Linked DNA regions of Homo sapiens: regions 2 and 3 are each linked to region 1. The links are contacts of gene promoters, found by promoter capture Hi-C in blood cells and fetal thymus (Javierre and others, 2016). All regions are on one chromosome and are shown on one strand. Each heading gives the region's core, a stretch centred on a gene start or on the middle of the fragment in contact. The rest is flanking DNA. Distances are from core to core; before and after follow the strand shown. Region 1 holds the start of TCFL5 (transcription factor like 5). Region 2 holds the start of TAF4 (TATA-box binding protein associated factor 4). Region 3 holds the start of LSM14B (LSM family member 14B).

Region 1 (4,118 bases), core at 777-3,276:
TGGTGGCACATGCCTATAATCCCAGCTATTCAGGAGGCTGAGGCAGGAGAATCACTTGAATCCAGGAGGCAGAGGTTGTGCTGAGTCAAGATCGTGCCATTGCACTCCAGCCTGGGAGACAGAGCAAGACTCCATCTCAAAAAATAAAAAAATAAATAAATAAAGCAATTTGCTTTCCATCTTGGTGTAGTTTCCTTCATGTTTCTTGAGTTTGAGGTATGTTAAACTTCTTGGGTCTGTAGGTTTGTAGTTTTAAAAAAACTTTTCAATCATTATTTTTTTTTGTTGTTTTGTTTTTGTTTTTTGAGACAGCGTCTTGCTCTGTCTCCCAGGCTGGAGTGCAGTGGTGCAATCTCTACTCACTGAAACCTCCACCTCCCGGGTTCCAGCGATTCTTCTGCCTCAGCTTCCTGAGTAGCTGGGATTACAGGCACATGCCACCACACCTGGCTAATTTTTTATATTTTTAGTAGACACGAGATTTCATCATGTTGGCCAAGCTGATCTCGAACTCCTGACCTCAAGGGATCTGCCCGCCTCGGCCTCCCAAAGTGCTGGGATTACAGGCGTGAGCCACCTCACCTGGCAATCATTACTTCTTAAAATGTCTTTCTCCCCATCCTTCCACCCCCAGGGGACTTCAAATCACACTGCTTGAAGCGGCCCCACAGCTCACTGATGCTCTGCTCACTCTCTTAGCCTTCCCTCTCTGTTTTACGTTAGACGACTTCTGTTGCCATGTCCTTGAGAGTTTTAAGTCCTTGCTTTCCTCCTTGGTAGTGTTTTCTGAAACCTGATGTTTTGCCCAAAACTGATATATTATTTTCATGTATACATGTGTGAGTTTAGATTTGCATGGCTGAGCTTTCATAGCCCATCGTTGAATCATTGTAATATATTGGTCTGTGTCTAAACTGTGATGAAATGAGCGAAAGATTCAGACCCGGCTTAGAAGACGATGTGCAAGTCACAGGCCTTTAAGTGTCCTAATGCCTAGACAGAGAACAGACAACCACTGAGTGAGATGGGAATGTGGGTGAGAGGTTAAGTACAGGAATTATTTCAAGATTGCAAAAATAAGTCTCTTAAAGACCACATATTGCATAGTTCCCTTAACAGGGAAGGCCCAGCCTAGGCAAACTCCTGGACACAGAAGATTAGTGGCTGCAGGCGGGGGAGGGGCAGTGTGCTGACTGCTACAGGAGACCGGTGGTGAATGCAGCGGTGGAGGCGGGCCCAGCGCTGGGAATGTACCACCACCGTCGCGCTGTGCATTTTTTTTTTTTTTTTGAGATGAAGTCTGGCTCTGTTGCCCAGGCTGGAGTGCAGTGGCAAGATCTCGACTCACTGCAACCTCCGCCTCCCGGGTTCAAGCGATTCTCCTGCCTCAGCCTCCCGAGTAGCTGGGATTACAGGCACGCACTACCACGTCCAGCTAATTTTTGTATTTTTAGTAGAGACGGGGTTTCACCATGTTGGCCAGGCTGGTCTCGATCTCCTGACCTCCTGATCCACCTGCCTCGGCCTCCCAAAGTACTGGGATTACAGGCATGAGCCACAGAACCCGGCCATGCGCTGCGCATTTTACGCGGATGAAGCGGATGGCCTGGGCACTGTGGACTGTGGGTCCAGGGAGCTGTTTTGACAACGTCTTCATTCCTGCCGCTGTAATGGGGCGCACGTGCACGCACGGACGTGGCTTCTCCCCAGGGTGTCACCGCGTAGGTATCACGCTGATTCCAGCGCAGCCGCCCTCGCCGGGCCTCAGCGGGGAGTGGCCGGGCAGCAGGGGCGTGGCTGGGAACCGGGCGTGGCCTGAGCTGGGGGCGTGGCCTAGCTGTGGGGGCGTGGCTGGGCCGTGGGGGCGGGCCCTCCGCGCAAGCATCCGCCGACGTGGGGCGGGGCCGGGCGTGCGGGCGGTTGGGCGGGGGCGGGGCCGGCGGCGGCGGGTAACGGAGGGGGCGGGGCTGGCGCAGGGGTGGGGTTGCCGTTGCGGGGCGGGGCGGCGCAGGCGCTGTGCGCGGCACTCAGCGGTTTTCCCTCCCCCAACGGCGCGCCGGCTGTGGCCGGCGCAGAGTAGTGCTCGGGCCGGGGGTCGCCTCCCGCCTCCCGCCTCCCGCCTCCCGCCGCCCGCCGCCCGCGTCGCCCTCGCCGCCGTTGGGCCGCGCCGCGCCGCCATGTCGGGCCCCGGACCGCGGGAGCCGCCGCCGGAGGCAGGCGCGGCAGGCGGCGAGGCGGCCGTCGAGGGCGCGGGCGGCGGGGACGCGGCGCTGGGCGAGCCGGGGCTGAGCTTCACGACCACCGACCTGAGCCTGGTGGAGATGACGGAGGTGGAGTACACGCAGCTGCAGCACATCCTCTGCTCGCACATGGAGGCGGCGGCTGACGGCGAGCTCGAGACGCGCCTCAACTCGGCGCTGCTGGCGGCGGCGGGCCCGGGCGCAGGCGCGGGCGGCTTCGCGGCGGGCGGTCAGGGGGGCGCGGCGCCCGTGTACCCCGTGCTGTGCCCGTCCGCGCTGGCGGCCGACGCGCCCTGCCTGGGCCACATCGACTTCCAGGAGCTGCGCATGATGCTGCTAAGCGAGGCGGGCGCGGCGGAGAAGACGTCGGGCGGCGGGGACGGAGCGAGGGCCCGGGCCGACGGCGCCGCCAAGGAGGGCGCGGGCGCGGCTGCGGCTGCGGCTGGACCCGACGGCGCGCCCGAGGCCCGGGCCAAGCCGGCCGTGCGCGTCCGCCTGGAGGACCGCTTCAACAGCATCCCCGCCGAGCCGCCGCCCGCGCCGCGCGGCCCCGAGCCCCCCGAGCCGGGCGGGGCGCTCAACAAGTGCGTGCCCGGCGGCCGGGGGCTGGCGGGGCCCGGGTGGAGGCCGAGGCCGGGGCCGGGGCCGGGGCGGAGGCAAAGGGGGCCCTCGCTGTGCACGCCCCCAGCCTGCCCTCCCGGCGGCACAGGGCGCGGACCTCACCGGGTCTGGGGCCGCCCCGAAAGGCTGTGTGCGCTGTGCGGGCCCCGGGGAGCAGGTACTTCCAGAAACTAAACACCCCCTCCCTCAGTGGCCCCGCCTGGAGTGGGGCCGAGCGCGCAGAATTCCTGGGAACCATGTGCTCCGGGTGGCACTCTTGGATGTCAGGGAAGCCTAGGAAGGCCCGACGGGGGTTTGCAGGCTTTGAGCTCTAAAATGAGGCTCCAGCCTGCAGCCGCCCCCTTGGCGACCCTCAGGGATGGCTGTGGAAGGGGCTGCGTCCGCAGTTTTCTGCTCATCCCAGCCTGTAGTTGCCCATCGTGGTCACACTGGAGGATGGCAAAAGTGAGATTGGTGTCAGGATGTGATGAGAGCAGGGAGGTGGCGCAGTTTTGCTTTTCCTCCATAGGAAGAGGAGGACTTCCACAGCAGCGATAGTTGCTAATTGTTGTGTAGAGATTTCCAGGATGAGAGTTGGGTTGCTGTCTGGAAAAACTAGCCAGAGCCATGGGAGTGGGATGGTGGATGCTTGTCTGCCACGTATTGCTGACACTTCTGGGCTTTCTTTTGTCTTGGCAGTTTGGTAACTCTCATTCGACATCCATCTGAACTAATGAATGTTCCTCTTCAGCAACAAAACAAATGTACAGCATTAGTGAAAAATAAAACTGCGGCTACAACTACTGCTTTGCAATTTACATACCCACTGTTTACTACAAATGCTTGCTCTACTAGTGGAAATTCTAATCTTTCACAGACACAGGTAGGGAACATGATTTGTGAAGCTTTGCTCTTTTGTATTAAATGGGTAAATTTTAACTTATTTTGGTTAGGTCCCAAGTACTTTTTTTTCCCTTCAGTGAGCTTAATAACCTTTTAAGCCGGGCGCCAAGGCCGACACCTGTAATCCCAGCACTTTGGGAGGCCGAGGTGGGTGGGTCATTTGAGTTCAGGAGTTCAAGACTAGCCTGGCCAACATGGTGAAACCCCGTACGAAAATTAACCAGGTGGTAGTGGCGGACACCTGTAATCCCAGCTGCTCAGGAGGCTGAGGCGGGAGAATCGCTTGAGCCTGGGAGGTGGAGGTTGTGGTGGGCTGACATCGCGACCCTGCACTCCAGTCTGGGCGACAGAGTGAGAGCCTGTCTCAAAAAAAAA
Region 2 (4,118 bases), core at 1,126-3,625, 800 kb after region 1:
TCTTTTTATGCTGGGTGAGATTTTTCTTTCAAACTACACAAGTCCTAACTGCTTGGGGCAACAACTAAAATCACAGAGATACTAAAATTTGGCGGGAGGCCCCCAGGGTGACTCCCCACCACATGAACATTAGGAGGGGAAGTCACGTGCTGTCCTCACCCGCCTCCCCTCCCCCCCCCCCCGGAAGGCAGTGCTCCTGCAAACCCCAGACATAGAAGAGCTGCCTGGCTGTCTGCGGCTCCCACTTTCCCCAGGGCCTTCTGGTGCCCAACACCCTCCTTGCAAGGGAAGCTGGAATAGGTGGGCACAGACCCTTAACTTCTCGCAGTTCCTGCAGCTGCCAGGCTGGACGGTTCCCCAGAAGATCCTGCGAACACGTTGGAATGAAAGACTCCTGGCGGGGCCTTGGAGAAGAGGAGTCACCACTGTGCGTAGATGGCAGGAGACTCATTACAGATCTCAGTGGAGTAGCAGCGGACTTGAAGAGTGGAGGCCTGAGCGTGGGAACCTTCAGTTACCCCAGCCTTTGGGACCCTGGGGGCCTTGGAACCTGGTCTGTTTCCTGCGAGTCCTGCGTTCTGCTTCTGCCCCGACTCCAATCTGAGGGGTCTGTGGGTATGGGCTGTGCAGTGAGCCTGGTGCGCCCCACCTTGCAAGTTGTGCGTGGGGCCAGTTAGCCTGCCTGTGCTTTGACCTGCTTTAAAAATGTTCTAATTAGTTGTCAACACTCAAAAATTAAAAATCCCGAGATTTAATCATCACTTTATATTTCTGTTCTTTCTGGAAAACTCAGACTGTCCCCCTACTGAGCTCAAGGTGCTCCGTAGGTGTACCCACAGGGGCCCTCCCCGCCATACTCAGCTTGCTTCATTCATTTCCTTTCCTGCCTTCTGGGAGCCAAAGTTCAGGTACAAAACTCCAGCTGTACGTTTGCAGTGATTTCCCCCAAACACTGTTCCCCTATAGGGGAGGCACCTCTCCTAGGCTCCGTCCTCAATGCTCATTGGCTGCTGCTGCTGTCGAGAAACAAGCCTGGGGTGAAGTCCCGTATTCCAGTTATCAGTAAGTCCATTCCTTTGCAAGGCTACAGTTCGAACAGGCACAAGGGTCCAGTTCGGGTCTGCTTTCGAGACTAGCAGTCTCCTTTGTTAAAGCAATTAAAAAAATCATTTTCTTTGTCAGCAACGTCATTCATCGTCCCGAGGTCTCTGCTTATTGCGGCGCTGTCTTCAGCTGCGAAGACTGACCCTGTGGCCTCTTGGCCCCAGTGAGGTCCGAGGCAAGGAAGCGTCTCTCTGAAACCTATTCTGGGCTCTTAGGAAGAAATGAGAGAAAGGAAAACCACTAGAAATGTCCAATAACACCATCTTTTGGTTGGAAAATAAAACACGCAGAAAGAGGGGACTGGAACTTTTACTGAAGTATTTCTAGAGAGAAGGTGCTTGGGAACACTTTAGGTAACTTACTCCCCTCCCCCAGCAGAAGGTAAAAAAAGCTACTTCCAGACGTGCCGGCTTCAGGCTCGGGAACTTCGTTTGGCGCCTGGCAAGCACCGTGCTCTTACCTACGGGCTTATACGACACTCCTGTCTCCAAGGCAGCTGGGTGCGGGGACAGTCAGCCCGGGGCGGCTGGGTTTATTGATTAAAAATGGAGGGAAGGGCCAGGGGTGGTCACGATTGGAGGGCGAGAAGAGCCGTGCGCGCAGGACCCCTCCCCACCGCCCGGGACCGGCTGAGCCAGAGGCGGACCCAGCTTCCCCGCGGCGGCTTGGAGGGGCCGGGCGCCGGTCCCCGTCCCCAGGGCGCGCTGCGACAGTCCCCTCCCCGTTCCCGCCCGCCTCCCAGGCCCATCCACTCCAGGGCCTGCGCGCCGCCCGGCGGCGCCCCGGCATCCCCGCGCGCTGTTCCCCGGGCCTCGGACGGGCCCTGCGCCGCCGCTGCCACCGCGCACGGCGCCCGCCCGGCGCTCCCGTCAGCGCCGCCGCAGCCATTTTGGAGCGAGCCGAGACAAAGAGCGAGGCCCCGTCGCCGCCCCGCGCCCGCCTCGGCCCGGCCCAGCGCACCGTTCCCGCATCCCGCGCCCCGCCCGGCGGCCCCCTCCCCGTCCGCCACCGCCCCGGCGCCCGCGCCCCTGAGCTCCAGCCCCCGCGCTTCCCGCCGCTGCTGCCGCACCCCGGCCGACCGCCCGCGCCCCGGCCTCTAGCGCTCGCAGCCATTGGCCGCGCCTTTTAAGCGCGCGCCGCAGCCAATCGCCGGGCGCCCGCGGTCTCCGCGCCTGCGCAGGGCCGCCACCCCCGCTCCCCCGCCCCCCGGCCGCGCGCCCCCGCCCCCCGCCGGCCGCGCGCCGCCCCCCGCCCGCCCAGCGCCCGCCCCAGTCGGAACCTCCTCCTCGCCCAGGCGCGCTCGGCCCGAGCGGCGGCGGCGGCGGCGGCCGAGGAAAAAAGATGGCGGCGGGCTCGGATCTGCTGGACGAGGTCTTCTTCAACAGCGAGGTGGACGAGAAAGTGGTGAGCGACCTGGTGGGCTCGCTGGAGTCGCAGCTGGCGGCCAGCGCGGCCCACCACCACCACCTCGCGCCGCGCACGCCCGAGGTGCGGGCCGCGGCCGCCGGCGCGCTCGGGAACCATGTTGTGAGCGGCAGCCCGGCCGGAGCCGCGGGCGCAGGGCCGGCCGCCCCCGCCGAGGGCGCGCCCGGAGCGGCGCCGGAGCCGCCCCCCGCAGGTAGAGCGCGGCCGGGGGGCGGGGGGCCGCAGCGCCCGGGCCCCCCCTCACCGCGCCGCCCCCTTGTCCCCGCAGGGCCCGCGCCGCCCGCCGCGAAGCTGAGGCCGCCGCCCGAGGGCAGCGCGGGGTCCTGCGCCCCGGTGCCCGCCGCCGCCGCCGTCGCCGCGGGGCCCGAGCCCGCCCCCGCCGGCCCCGCCAAGCCCGCCGGCCCCGCCGCGCTGGCCGCCCGCGCCGGCCCCGGCCCCGGGCCCGGCCCCGGCCCCGGCCCCGGCCCTGGCCCTGGCAAGCCCGCCGGCCCCGGCGCCGCGCAAACTTTGAATGGGAGCGCCGCGCTGCTGAACTCGCACCACGCCGCCGCACCTGCTGTCAGCCTGGTCAACAACGGGCCCGCCGCGCTGCTGCCGCTGCCCAAGCCCGCCGCCCCCGGCACTGTCATCCAGACGCCCCCCTTCGTGGGCGCCGCCGCGCCCCCCGCGCCCGCCGCGCCCTCGCCCCCCGCCGCCCCCGCGCCCGCCGCCCCCGCCGCCGCCCCGCCCCCGCCACCCCCCGCGCCCGCCACTCTGGCCCGGCCGCCCGGCCACCCCGCCGGACCCCCGACCGCCGCGCCCGCCGTGCCGCCCCCCGCCGCCGCCCAGAACGGGGGCAGCGCCGGGGCAGCCCCCGCCCCCGCCCCGGCCGCCGGGGGCCCCGCGGGGGTCAGCGGCCAACCCGGGCCCGGCGCGGCGGCTGCGGCGCCGGCGCCGGGGGTCAAGGCCGAGTCGCCCAAGAGGGTGGTGCAGGCGGCGCCCCCGGCGGCGCAGACCCTGGCGGCCAGCGGCCCGGCCAGCACGGCGGCCAGCATGGTCATCGGGCCAACTATGCAAGGGGCGCTGCCCAGCCCGGCCGCCGTCCCGCCGCCCGCCCCCGGGACCCCCACCGGGCTGCCCAAAGGCGCGGCCGGCGCAGTGACCCAGAGCCTGTCCCGGACGCCCACGGCCACCACCAGCGGGATTCGGGCCACCCTGACGCCCACCGTGCTGGCCCCCCGCTTGCCGCAGCCGCCTCAGAACCCGACCAACATCCAGAACTTCCAGCTGCCCCCAGGTGAGTGGCCGCACGGGGCGGGAGGGAAGGGCGGCTCCCAGCAGCGCCAGCTGCCAGTTCCAGGAAGTTCTCCGCTGGTGGAATGCTAAGGTCATCTGTCCCGTAGGCCCGTGGCTGGAGCAGGCCGAGGGGCAGTCTCTACCCAGGTGCGGGGCCAGCCCGGGTGGCTGTCTGCGAGTGAGCCAGAGGGAGTCGGCATAGCCTGCGTCCCTGTCGCTGTCCCTGACGTCCGCGCTGGCTGCCTGTGCCTGGGGCTGGTCTGTTTCGGAGTGGCTCAGCCAGGACTCTTAGTGGAGTGGTCCTTACCTGCTCC
Region 3 (4,118 bases), core at 744-3,243, 740 kb after region 1:
TGCCCCGATTTTCAATGGACAGTGCTGATAATGCACCAATTGGTGAAGCTCCAGACAACAGACAGCTCTAGATCACAAAGATGACAAGGAACAATTTCACAGACTGACAGTCTGATGTGCGAAGGCACCAACGTACAGAGCTCTCAGCAAAACAAGGCTTGCTTCGTAAGGCCTCCCTGTTCACGTTTGACTCTGTAGATCCAACAGCCAGCCGGCTGCTTTATGCCCAAAGCCTCACCGCACATTGCGCCTGAGGAGGCAGTTTTCTCACAAAGGAATCTAGACGAGTGTTGCCCTTACCCTTCTATCCATAACAAACCTTGGAACAGCTGTAACAGAAAACAAAGGGAGACAGGGTCCCAGGATTATGGACCTCTGACCCCGGCTTCCGCATCTATAAGGAATTGAGTCTACTAACCCCTAACCAGCAGGCTTCCAGGAGCGCCCAAGTCTCTTTCTAGCAAGCCTCTAGGGGCAGAGGTGGGTGGGACAGCAGCCTCTAACTGGTAAGACACAACTCCTGCTAACTCCTGGGCCTACTCTGGGCCTCAGCTTCTCTAACTGGGCTCTCCTGTAATAAGTGTAGTGAGGTTCCATGGCTGCAAGTGAGTGCATAGCCCTGGCATACTCAACAAGCTCCTGAAGCCACGCAGGAGACGGGCTTCAAAAGGAGACACTCCCTGTTTGGAATGAGTGCGTTCTTCTACACATGAAGTTCCCTGTGACCTAAGCAGCGTTTCAGACGCGTCTAGACACTTCAAGAACCCCTGGGAGCCTAGCGCCAGATCCAGCACACACACGGGCTTAGGCAGACGTGGCTCCACGGGCACTTTTCTCTGAGAGGCAGGGGAAGTGCACTCCCCGTCTTCTCTGGGTGATGAAGACAAAGAAACTCTGGACCACCCGCTGCCTCAACAACCTCAGAGATTCTGACTCTAAAGAGCCCCCCTCCTGTAAGTCCTCCAGCGGCCACAGCCGGTTACGAGCACCCACAGGCGGCTGTCACCAAAAGGTAAGCCCCACAGTGGGAAGGTCAGGATAGAGCAGGAGAACCGTTTAAACCGGGGCATCTGGCTGCCAACGGATGCTTCTGCCTTGGCAGGAGGCCGCATTAGGACGCGGTATTTGTTCAGGATCAAGGCCCCAGCTGTCTAATAAGTTCCAGAAAGGCTTGCAGGATTCGCGTGTTGTGACCCCACCCCCAGCCTTCGGGAGACGCCGGGACACTGGCCCCGCCACCCGACCTCGAGGCTCCCCCGCAGGGATCCCCCCAGGCTGGCGGGGAGGAGGCCCGCTGACGGGAGCCGCCCTGCTCCTCGGAGCTGGCACCTGCAGAGGTGGGCTGGGCGGCCGAGGGGGCGGCACCGCGGGGGCCGGGCCCGCCCCTCACCAAACACCGCCGGGCGCCCGCGCACAATCCCGCCGCCCTGGGAGCCCAGGGAGACCATTGTGCGGCCGGCTACGCTGGGGGAGGGTGGCGCGCGGGAAGGGGGCGCCTCGGGGGCGTCCGGGGTGAAGGCGCGGGCAGGGGATCTCGGGCCGGGTGTGCCCTGGGTGGGTTCTGGGCGGGGTCTGGGCGCCAGGCTCCGGGGCGCCCCGGGGCGGGGAGGGCACCGCAGGCCGGGGCTGTTGGCGGACGGGGGTCAGCGGGCTCGGGCGGGCGGCGGCCGCTACCTTTGGCGAGCGCCACGGTGGAGTTGTCGGTGTCGATGGTGTAGAGAATGCCCTCGTAGCGGATCTGCGCCTTGGAGATGAGGCTGATCTTGCTGCCCAGATACGGGGTGCCTGAGGAGCCGCTCATGGCGGCGGCCGGGGTGCGTCGGGCCGCGGTGGGGAAGGAGCGCCGGGCCGCGGCCCGCTCCGCCGCCGCGCGGTGGCCTGGCCGCCCGCTCCTGCGCTCCTCCGCCCGCCGCCGCCTCCGCCTGGGCGCCTCCTCGCCACCGCCCGAGGGGCCTGCGCGGGCACCGAGCGAACCAAGAAGGGGCGCGCGACTGGGGCTCTGAGAGGAGCGCGGGGGAGGAGGGGCCGCCGCAGCCACATCCGGGGCCTCGCGCCGCCACGCACCGCCACGCACCGCCCCTTCACGCTCGCCGCCCATTGGCTCGCCGCGCCCGCCGTCCTTTAAATATGGCCGGGCCGCCAGCTGGGGGGCGGGCCCTCGCGTCGTTCCTGCGCAGCAAGGCGCCGCTGGCCGGGGGCGGGTCTCCCCGGCGATCCGCCCCACCCTCGGCCGGCTCCCGGCGGGCCCCTCGCGGAGCTGGGAGCACGAGACTGAGCGGGCGGGGGGAGGGGTGGGAAGCGGCCCGGGAGGAGCGCGCGTGCGCGTGGGCGGGCGGCTGCGGTTTGCACGCTCAGTGGGCGGGACCGGGGAGGAGCGCCAGGCCCCGCCCGCGCGCGTGCCGGCGCCGCCCCGGACCCTGGGCGCCGCGAACACGGGGGCTTTGCCCCCTTGGCCTCAGTTTCCCCTCCTACAGAAGTGGGGTCCGGACGACTCCCCTATCTTGGGCCAGATGCGCCTATAGCCCTCACCCTCATGGGGGACCGGGGAGTGGCGGAGGCCCTGGGCGCCGGGTGTTCCCGGGCAGCCCCGGGACTCCCGCCCCAGTGCCCAGGTGCCGGCGGGGGGCGGGCGCGGCGGCAGCTCCCGGGAAGGCGGCGCTTCCGGCGTGGCAGCCTCTAAATATAACATGCTGAGCACACTTTCTCTTTTAATCCTGCCCCTCCTCCCAAAGCCTGCCGCAGCTTTCCATTTCCCTTAAAATAAATTCTGACTGGCTACCGGGGGCCTCGGAGCCTCCGCTCGTACCCGGGGCTGCGGCCCGGAGGCCTTGCCCACCTCCCCGGCCGTGGAGGAAGCTCGGCCGCCCGCCGTCGCTTAGCTGCGGGCCCTCCTCGCGTATACTCCGCGTGATTAGTGACCGAGGGCGCGCGGTGTGTGCTTTTTTTGCTTCCGTCTTGACCGTGAACATCATCAGATCACGGACCAATATTGGGTCCTGGAAAAAAAAAGTAGTGGGTGGTGACTATAAAAATGCAATAGGCTGGGCGCGGTGGCTCACGCCTGTAATCCCAACACTTTGGGAGGCGGAGGCGGGCGGATCACTTGAGGTGAGGAGTTCAAGACCAGCCTGGGCAAAATGGTGAAACCCTGTCTCTACTCTAAAAATACAAAAAAACTAGCCGGGCGTGGTGACAGACACGTGTAATCCCCAGCTACTCGGGAGTCTGAGGCAGGAGAATCGCTTGAGCCTGAGACGTGAAGATTGCAGTCAGCAGAGATCTCACCACTGCATTCCAGCCTGGGCGACAGAGCTAGACCCCGTCTCAAGAAAAATAATAATAAAAATGAAATAGAATAAGCTAGAAGATATCAGATGGCGTGGTGGGTGGCTCATGCCTGTAATCTCAGCACTCTGGGAGGCCGAAGCGGGAAGATCACTGGAGGCCAGGAGTTTGAGATCAGCCTGGGCGACATATGGAGACCCCATCTCTACAAAAAAAAAAAAAACTTTAAAAAAAATTGGGCGAGTGTGGGGGCACATACTTGTAGTTCCAGCTCCTGGGGAGGTGGAGGCAGAGGCGGGAGGATCACTTGAGCCCAGGAGTTGGAGGCTGCAATGAGCTGTGATTGGACTACTGCACGCAGGGGTGGCAGCAAGACCCTATTTCTAAAGGAAAAAAAGAAAATAATAGTATCTCGCATGGTGAAAGTAAGTATTATTTTGTGAAATATTTAATTCACCTGTTTGTGTAAGTGTGGACTTGGTAAGGACCTAGAATGTGTTTCTGACTATAATAAGAAGATCTTACCTGCCCTGCAGGGTAGACGCTGTGACTCCCCATTTGACAGAAGGGGAAACAGAGGCCCAGCACGGGGGAGTCACGCAGAGAAGTTGCAGTCTGGCCTGGTGGCATCCTCCACAGGCTTGGGGCCGCATCACACTGTCTCTTGTCTCTTCACAAAGGTGAAGCCAACCTGCTCCCACCAGAGCCCGGCAATGGCCAGTAAGAGAACAGTGATGAGTTTAAGGAAGGGGACACAGGAAGCAGAAGAGAAGAGGGAAAATTCAGTTTCATCTGCCAAGATTGACCTGTACATTCTAGAATTGCTTCTTGGC

Evidence for each region. The method cuts DNA at HindIII sites, captures the fragments that hold promoters and counts their contacts. A CHiCAGO score of 5 or more calls a contact.
Region 2: the fragment with the promoter of TAF4 here is called in contact with the fragment with the promoter of TCFL5 in region 1 in 1 of 17 cell types (neutrophils); the score reaches 11.1 in neutrophils.
Region 3: a contact is called between the fragment with the promoter of LSM14B here and the fragment with the promoter of TCFL5 in region 1, in 1 of 17 cell types (neutrophils). The highest score is 8.5, in neutrophils.

The regions. Positions count from the first base shown.
Region 1 is chr20:62,859,730-62,863,847 of GRCh38, reverse strand. TCFL5 (transcription factor like 5) reads left to right here and starts at 2,026. Exons shown (of 6, transcript NM_006602.4): 1 at 2,026-2,824; 2 at 3,540-3,723. The coding sequence starts at 2,178. It overlaps LOC105372717 (a long non-coding RNA gene), which reads right to left and starts at 2,413. Exons shown (of 4, transcript XR_936989.4): 1 at 2,307-2,413. RefSeq lists silencers at 1,618-1,717, 1,768-1,957, 2,458-2,607 and an enhancer at 1,579-2,233. The HindIII fragment of the contact is 6,144 bases long and covers 1-3,747 here.
Region 2 is chr20:62,064,138-62,068,255 of GRCh38, reverse strand. TAF4 (TATA-box binding protein associated factor 4) reads left to right here and starts at 2,375. Exons shown (of 15, transcript NM_003185.4): 1 at 2,375-3,805. The coding sequence starts at 2,446. It overlaps MIR3195 (microRNA 3195), which reads right to left and starts at 3,454; the gene lies at 3,371-3,454. It overlaps LOC105372705 (a long non-coding RNA gene), which reads right to left and starts at 1,802. Exons shown (of 2, transcript XR_936960.3): 1 at 1,565-1,802; 2 at 1-1,314. RefSeq lists enhancers at 1,086-1,599, 2,628-3,142, 3,143-3,656, 3,657-4,118 and silencers at 1,595-1,974, 2,235-2,344, 2,605-2,694. The HindIII fragment of the contact is 9,555 bases long and covers 1-4,118 here.
Region 3 is chr20:62,120,350-62,124,467 of GRCh38, reverse strand. LSM14B (LSM family member 14B) reads right to left here and starts at 1,993. Exons shown (of 9, transcript NM_144703.3): 1 at 1,675-1,993. The coding sequence starts at 1,801. LOC105372706 (a long non-coding RNA gene) reads left to right here and starts at 784. Exons shown (of 3, transcript XR_936963.2): 1 at 784-1,012. RefSeq lists enhancers at 417-1,104, 1,105-1,793, 1,794-2,481 and silencers at 1,145-1,684, 1,845-2,934. The HindIII fragment of the contact is 16,298 bases long and covers 1-4,118 here.